Linked DNA regions of Homo sapiens: region 2 is linked to region 1. Evidence: promoter capture Hi-C in 16 types of primary human blood cells and fetal thymus (Javierre and others, 2016). All regions are on one chromosome and are shown on one strand. The core of a region is centred on a gene start or on the middle of the fragment in contact, and the rest is flanking DNA. Distances in the headings are between cores, read along the strand shown. Region 1 holds the start of TTC21B (tetratricopeptide repeat domain 21B). Region 2 holds the start of PPIG (peptidylprolyl isomerase G).

Region 1 (3,714 bases), core at 274-2,773:
ACACCAAGTCACCGTGAGTGTCAAAGCAAATCTCAGAGTACTTTTAATCCAACAAACATTTATGAAACATCAGGCTTGGTGTTTTGTGCTAAATAATTCAACCTTAGAACAGAATTCAGTGAAGAGAATACGAGGCTAAATTAATATGACTTTCAAGATCTCCAAAAGGTAGGTTGATCATCTGTTCTGTTAACCATGATCCTGAGATATTTCCTTACAGATGAACTTTTCTCTTATAACCAAAGGTTTACAGTTCAAGATTATACACTTCATTGAGCACCCTGGTCCTGTGGTATTCTTTGCTGTATACCAAGTGCGGATTAATCCGCAGCTTTGAAAATCAAAGAGATATCACCAGTTGTTCATCACCACAGACATTTAGCTGGACTATAAATATTGGAAAGAAAAAAAAGTTGCTCGTGAAAATACGTGGTGAATTCCTTTAAAGAGAAACCGGTGAGAAATATTGCTTCACCTTAAAGCCTAGGATGGTAGCTACCGTTTTTCTCAAGACTGTCCTTACATAACCTATTGGCATGGGGAAAAAGTCAATGTTTATAAACTCCTTAAGAAACTTAAAATCTGGAAAAGGCAACTACGTATCATGTCAACTAAAGTAAGATAATTAACACTAGGATCAAAATTTGGAATCCACGTGAAAGATTCTGCAAAGATCACTTAAATCTCAGACCTTATGCACTATTTTAAATATTTATTTAAGCAGAAATAGAAAATCTTAGTCTATTATATTTCCATTTAATTTCCTGGACTTAAGAAATCTATGTGTGACTGATTGAGTTGCCTAATGGGGTGCAAACATAAAAATTTGCATTGGGATTCATTTTATTCTCAGTTTAAAATCAGTAGTATCATTGAAAACAAGACACTAATTTTCTGGAAGTTTAATTTATTTGTCCCTCTTATTATCGGGGCTGGTAAAAAAGGGCTAATTGAACACACATTCTAACAAAGATTGCAGCAACGCCTGCAAAGACGGGCCCAAGCGCACCGTATTTCTGTTAAGAACGTGTGATTTTTTTTTTCTGCGCCACCTTGTGGCCGTAAAACAACTTGCCCACGTGAAAGTTGACCGCTTTTTCCCGCGCCGGCAGAGCCTTGCTGAGAGCCGCACTGCGGGAATCCGCCTCCAGACAAACGTGCAGAAAATGGTGTCTTCCTTTACAACCAGTGACAGGAAACAGACTTCCCCTTCTTCATACTCCGTTTCCTTTATTCCTGAATTCCATTTCCTCGGCCCGCCCACCCACTGTCCTCAGACAGCCGTTTCCCAGTGTGACCTCCTTTTCCAGCTGCACTCTCCGGCGGAGGCCCTTTTCCCAGCCCGGACCCTCCCGGGCGGCCCTCGCAGCCCTCACCTCCGGGTCCCCGCCGCCCCTGCTCCATTACAGCACGATCCCCGCCACACAGGCCCGCCTCTCCCTCCGACAGCCAATCGCGGCGCGACCCCGCCCCTCCCGCTGGGGCCCGGGGCGCTAGAGCGCTCCGGGAGGCTAGGGGAGCTGAATTCTGCGTCTTCCTTTAGGCTGCGGCGAGACAATCCCCAGAGCCCCGCGGCCCGGCCTCGGGGCAGCCATGGACTCGCAGGAATTGAAGGTGAGCGGGTGAGCGGGTGAGCGGGTGAGCGGGCGGGCGGGCGGAGTTCCTTTGCGGCCTTTTGGCCCGGGGGCGCGGAGGGAGCTCGGGTGGCTTCGCTAGGCCGCTGTTTCCCTGCGGTGCCCCGGCTGCTCGGGTTGCGGGGTGGGCCTGCAGCCTCTGCTCACGGCCGGTCTCCGCGGGCCCTGCTGGGGAAGCCCAGGTCTGGGCAGCCCGCCCGCTCGGTGTTTCTGAATTGCTGGTCCCCATGCTGTTGGTTGTGTTTACTTTTGTATCATGTTTACTAGGAAAGCTTGGGTTACCTATGACACTGCGCCTCCGGGTGCGATTTTTAAGGACTTAAGGCAAACTAGTGTCAGCTCCCACACTGGACAGTAAAAAGAGCGCAGAAAGATTATATGAAACCCATTAAAGACGTAAGACTTAAAAGTGGAGGGGTCGTTATTTTAGGGTGATGGTCTTCTCTGTTTATCACTGACTCATTCATTCAGCAAATATTAATGACGGTCAACTTAAGAAAGGCTGATATAAAACAGTTAAAGACATGAGGCTTGAAAATAAAATAACTTTTCGGATGTTGGTCTTCTCTATTCATTTGTTCACTGAATCACTCGTTCAGCAAATATTTATGAAGGGTTACTGTATGTCCATTAGAAGCTGGAGATAGCAGTGAGCAAAACTGAACAGTTTCTGCCTTCTCAGATTTTACAGGCTAATTAATGCTGGGGAAAAACCCTAATTCAGTTGACTCAACAAATATTTACTGAATGCCTCCTATGTGTCTAGCACTGTTCTAAGCACTGAAATAATAAAACCAAGAAAAACTCTTCCAATCTTGGAGCTTACATTTGAGTAGGAGGAGTCAGACAACAAGTAGGTAAATGAAATGTGTATCCTGTGAGATGGTGATAAGTGGATGGAGGACAATTTGGCGATGTAGGAGGTTAGGGAATGCTGAAATGTCTTGTTTTTCTGCCTGAAGTTTTACATTATCCTCTGTTCTAGCTATCCCCCTATATCCTTACATTTTTTTATTCCCTTAAATGTATTATTTGCACTGCCACCCAAATGAACATTTTAATAAAAACACTTTAATGTAAAATGTAAAAATGGGCCTCCTCATTACTTAGACTTGAGGTTCAAGTCCAAGTACTTAATATGAGGCTTTTCACCCCACCTTCGTCTCCAACCTCATCATCCAATACTCTCTGTCTCACTTAAGCCTCCAGAGCAGAGAATAGCAAACTTTCTCAACAAAGGGCCAGATAGTACACATTTTAGACTTTATGGACCGTATGGTCTATCACATCTAATTGGCTTGTTCAAAACAGCCATAGACAATACTTAAATGAGCATGGCTGTGTTTCAATAAAACTTTATTTATGAACACTGAAATTTGACTTTCATGTAATTTTCATGTTATGAAATATTTCTTTTTTTTCCTTGACAGCTGGAAAATATAAAAACCATTCTTAGTTCACTGGCTGTACAGCCAGCCAGCCAGATATGGCCCACAGAGTGTGGTTTGCCAAACCCTGCTCTAGAGTATGGAGTGGCTTTTAGTCATCTTCATCACCACTGCCATCCCAATGTACCATTGATGACTTGTTATCTGTGTTGTTGCAGTTCCTCTTCCTAACTCCTGTACCTTCCTCAAGAATCATGAAAAGGAAATAGGAAGAGCGTGTACGTGTGTGGAGGGAGAATGAGGGGTTTGCAATTCAAGAGTCAGCTCTGAAATCCTCCCCAATAATCTTTCCCTTGATTTTAGTCATCCATCCTCCCCTCACACCACATTCAGTTTTCAATGCTGTCAAAATGTTGCTATCCCACATTCCCAAAGGAGTTTATAAGCTCTTTTCTTACATTTACTACATTATATTTCAGTTAGTCTTCAGATTACAGTCTCATCTGAAAAATGTAGGTTTTCCGGGGGGACAGGAACCATGTCTTACTCATTTTTCTATTCATAGTAGCTAGCCCAGTGCCTGGGTACTAGTAGGCAGTCAGTAAATGTTTTGGATTGAATAACCTAACCTGAACCAAGGCAGTAGCATTAGGTATGTTTAGTGGGAGGTAGACTGGAGAAATAGAAGAACC
Region 2 (3,973 bases), core at 254-2,753, 3.6 Mb before region 1:
ACACACACTCACTCTTTTTTCCTGGTTTTAACTACTGAAAGTTAATATCAGGCCCCCCTAATTTCTAAAACATCTAATTGTTCTTTGGACAACTATGTTAGTACCAAACTATAAAAGCAAATACTTTTGTATTTGTGTTCACTACTGCAAAATGTTGGTTACACACAGAAAGGGCTATCGTGGAAAGAAATTAAAATCAATGCACAAAATGGTGCTTTTATAGCATTTCCAAAACGATTGTGCATACTCCTTGCCAGCACATCTAGACTTTGCTCCTTAAGACTAAACATGAGCTGGCCGTGCGCGGTGGCTCTCGCCTGTAATCCCAGCACTTTGGGAGGCCGAGGTGGGCGGATCACGAGGTCAGGAGATCGACCATCCTGGCTAACACGGTGAAAACCCGTCTCTACTAAAAACACAAAAAATTAGCCGGGCATGGTGGCACGTGCCTGTAGTCCCAGCTACTTGGGAGGCTGAGGCAGAAGAATCACTTGAACCCAGGAGGCGGAGGTTGCAGTGAGCCAAGATCGCGCCACTGCATTCCAGCCTAGGCGACAGAGCGAGACTCCGTCTCAAAAAAAAAGACTAACCAAGAACCAAATTAGCATACTTCCCCTTCAGGCATACTGAGCCCCGAAATCATCATCTTCCTCCTAAAGAGTAATTATCTCCTCCTAAAAGGCCTGCGCAGCTCACAGCTCCTCCGAAACACGGGGGAACTTCGCGAGAGCTCAAGACCCTGGACTTGAGTTTTAGAAAAATGCTTAACAAAGTGGCCTCTGCCACTTAACTGCACGACAGCCACTGTGCTGTGAGAGGAAAAGGTCGAAAGAGGAGGAAAGCTAGTCTTCAATTTTAATCCCTGTGATTCAGGCTCTTCGCCCGTCACTCTCCAACCCTAGCCTGACAGGACGTCAGGCTGTCTCCCCCTTCCCCACCAGTCCCGCCACCTACCCCGCAACAGTGCTGAGTCTTAGGATTTTGAAGCTTTAAAAATCAACCCGGCTCCCTAGAGTTCAGGCCGCAGTCGCTGCCGCCATGTTACAGCTTGTGCGGCAAAATGCGTCAGTGAGGGAGGTGTGCGCCTGAGTGGGGAGGGCGGGGGCTGGCAGAGGAAGGACCGTCCCCAGGCCCCGGGGCTCGACTGCAAGCCTTCTCCTTCTGCAACAGCGGCAAAGGCACTGCTGCGGTCCTCAGGGACTTCCTCTGGGCCCAAGCAGCCCCGATACCTCGAGGGAAAGACGGTAAACCCAACCCGGTCAGCCGCGCCGGCTCCGCCCCTCTTCCCAGGCCCTTCCCGCTTTCGTACGCAGGGACTGCTGAAATGACGCCGCCAGAACAACTTGAGCCTCATACCACTTACCTGCACCGGTAGAGTTTTCCTCTTCTCTGGGTCCGGTCCTTTGAAGCGCTTCAAATCTACCGCCGCCAGAAAAGGCGCTAAAGCCCGCTAACCGCCTCCCTCCCCCACAACTCAGTCCTGGCATGGAGAGACAGCGTCGCACCGGAAGCGCGTCAGGAGTGGGTTGTCAGCATCGGCCAGCGTTCACCTGCTTGCGTCACCACGCCCTCCTAGGACTTCTAGGATTTTGGTGCCTTTTAAATTCCTAGTTTATAGGTGGCCTAATGCTTTGTGGATGCGTTGACTGGGAACGCTTGTAACCGTTAAAATGCCATATCCTTTGTGAAGTAAAGTGCCTCATTTAATAAACATTTATTGATCTTACGCTAGGTTATCAGAAAGGAAGGCCTACCTTCATGGAGCTTCCAGTTAAGCTTCCACTTAACGCTAGGATATAAGTTCTAAAAACGCAGTAATGAGCAAAGTGTTATTTGAGGAAAGAGGAAGAAATTACAAAGAGCTTTGATGTTCTTTGTTGTTTTACAGATAAAGAAATTGAGGCTCAGGGAAGATAAACGCCTCCTCCTCAAACACACTGTTCTTGAATGCCAAAGCAAGTCTTTTGATGCCAAATCTAGTGCCTTCTAGAGAAAATATGGCATATATTATTTAATTATTTTAAGGGGCAAGGGTCCCCGGATTATGTTAGAAATAAATAACCATTGCTGTTTGGGCGGGGGGGTGGGGGGGGATGGGCAGTGATTCTGGTAGGGATGTGGGGTGTGTTTTAAAGGAACTAGCTAACTAGAGGACTTAAATTGTTCTGTCGTTTAAAGGCAACGTAAATTATGATCATTTAAATTTTTCACTCACTTGCATCAGGTAAATTAATTATCAACAACAGTTAGGCATGTGGTGGTGCTTCTAAGGGGCGTGACCAGTTTTACACAGCAGTAAAACAGAGGACATTTCTGCCTCTCCACCCCCACCTCTTTTAAGTCATTGCCCTTTATTGCAGGAGAGCAGCAGCATATTCATCTTTAGATAGTTCAGAGATTAAACGGATTTACACTTCGCTGTGTGTGGAGGGGACAATTCTGCAATACCTTAAAACAGGGGTCCCCAACCCCTGGGCCACAGACTGGCCTGGCTAATTTTTTGTATTTTTAGTAGAGACAGGGTTTCTCCATGTAGGTCAGGCTGGTCTCAAACTCCCAACCTCAGGTGATCCGTCCTCCTTGGCCTCCCAAAGTGCCGGGATTACAGGTGTGAGCCACCACGCCCGGCCAACGCTTTTCGAAAGAAGACATACTTGCAGCCAACAATCATAATGAAAAAGCTCAACACCACCAATCATCAGAAAAATGCAAATCAAAACCGCAGTGAGATACTATCTCATACCAGTCAGAATGGCTATTATTAAAAAGTCAAAAAATAACAGGTGCTGGTGAGGTTGTGGAGAAAAAGGAACATTTTACAGTGCTGGTGGGAGTTTAAATGAATTCAACTATTGTGGAAGACAGCGTGGCGATTCCTCAAAGACCTAGAGGCAGAAATACCATTTGACCCAGCAATCACATTACTGGGTATATACCCAAAGGAATATAAGTTGTTCTGTTATAAAGACATACACATATGTATGTTCATTGCCACACTATTCACAATAGCGAAGACATGGAGTCAACCTAAATGTCCATCAATGGTAGACTTGATAAAGAAAATGTGGTACATATACTCCATGGAATACTATGCAGCCATGAAAAAGAATGATCTCATGCCCTTCGCAGGAACATGGATGGAGCTGGAGACCATTATCCTTAGCAAACTAATGCAGAAACAGAAAACCAAGTACCACATGTTCTCACTTATAAGTGGGAGCTAAATGATGAGAACACATGAAGACATAGAGGGGCACAATACACACTGGGGCCTATCAGAGTGTAGACAGTGGGAGGAGGGAGAGGATCAGGAAAAATAACTAATGGGTCCTAGACTTAATACCTAGGTGATGAAATATTCTGTACAACAAACCCCCATTACACAAGTTTACCTCTGTAACAAACCTGCATATGTACCCCACAACTTAAATAAAAATAAATAAATGGAAGGATACTGTATGTATAGTGTATATAATAAACAACATTTGTTATCCTATAGTTTCCTTATATATATTTATATATATATTTATTATCCTAGTGTGTGTATGTATACATATACTATATATGTGTATATATACATATATATACACACACATATATGTACGTGTGTGTGTATATATGTGTATATATATATAAATAAGTGTTGTTTAAGCCACTAAGTTTTGGGATGATTTTGTCACACAGCAAGGGATAACTGACACAGAGAAGAAAGAATAGACTGATTATCACGGAACTTTTCACTTGTCTAATTCTACATAGCTTCATTTTTTTTCTTTTTTTCTAGAGACAGGGTCTCATTATGTTGCTCAGGATGGACTTGAACTCCTGGAGTCAAGCGATTCTCCCACCTTAGTCTCCAGAGTAGCTGGGACTACAGGTATGTACCACCTCACCCAGTGATGACCTCACATCATAAGGATCTGAGTTTCTGCCAGCCCGAATCATCAAATGCCAGAGAAGTATTTTACTAACA

What was found. The method cuts DNA at HindIII sites, captures the fragments that hold promoters and counts their contacts. A CHiCAGO score of 5 or more calls a contact.
Region 2: a contact is called between the fragment with the promoter of PPIG here and the fragment with the promoter of TTC21B in region 1, in 2 of 17 cell types (non-activated CD4 T cells and total CD4 T cells). The highest score is 7.6, in non-activated CD4 T cells.

The regions. Positions count from the first base shown.
Region 1 is chr2:165,951,585-165,955,298 of GRCh38, reverse strand. It overlaps TTC21B (tetratricopeptide repeat domain 21B), which reads left to right and starts at 1,523. Exons shown (of 29, transcript NM_024753.5): 1 at 1,523-1,614. The coding sequence starts at 1,594. RefSeq lists an enhancer at 759-1,508 and a silencer at 1,273-1,672. The HindIII fragment of the contact is 9,565 bases long and covers 1-1,908 here.
Region 2 is chr2:169,581,881-169,585,853 of GRCh38, reverse strand. PPIG (peptidylprolyl isomerase G) reads right to left here and starts at 1,503. Exons shown (of 14, transcript NM_004792.3): 1 at 1,364-1,503. RefSeq lists an enhancer at 1,538-1,587. The HindIII fragment of the contact is 789 bases long and covers 990-1,778 here.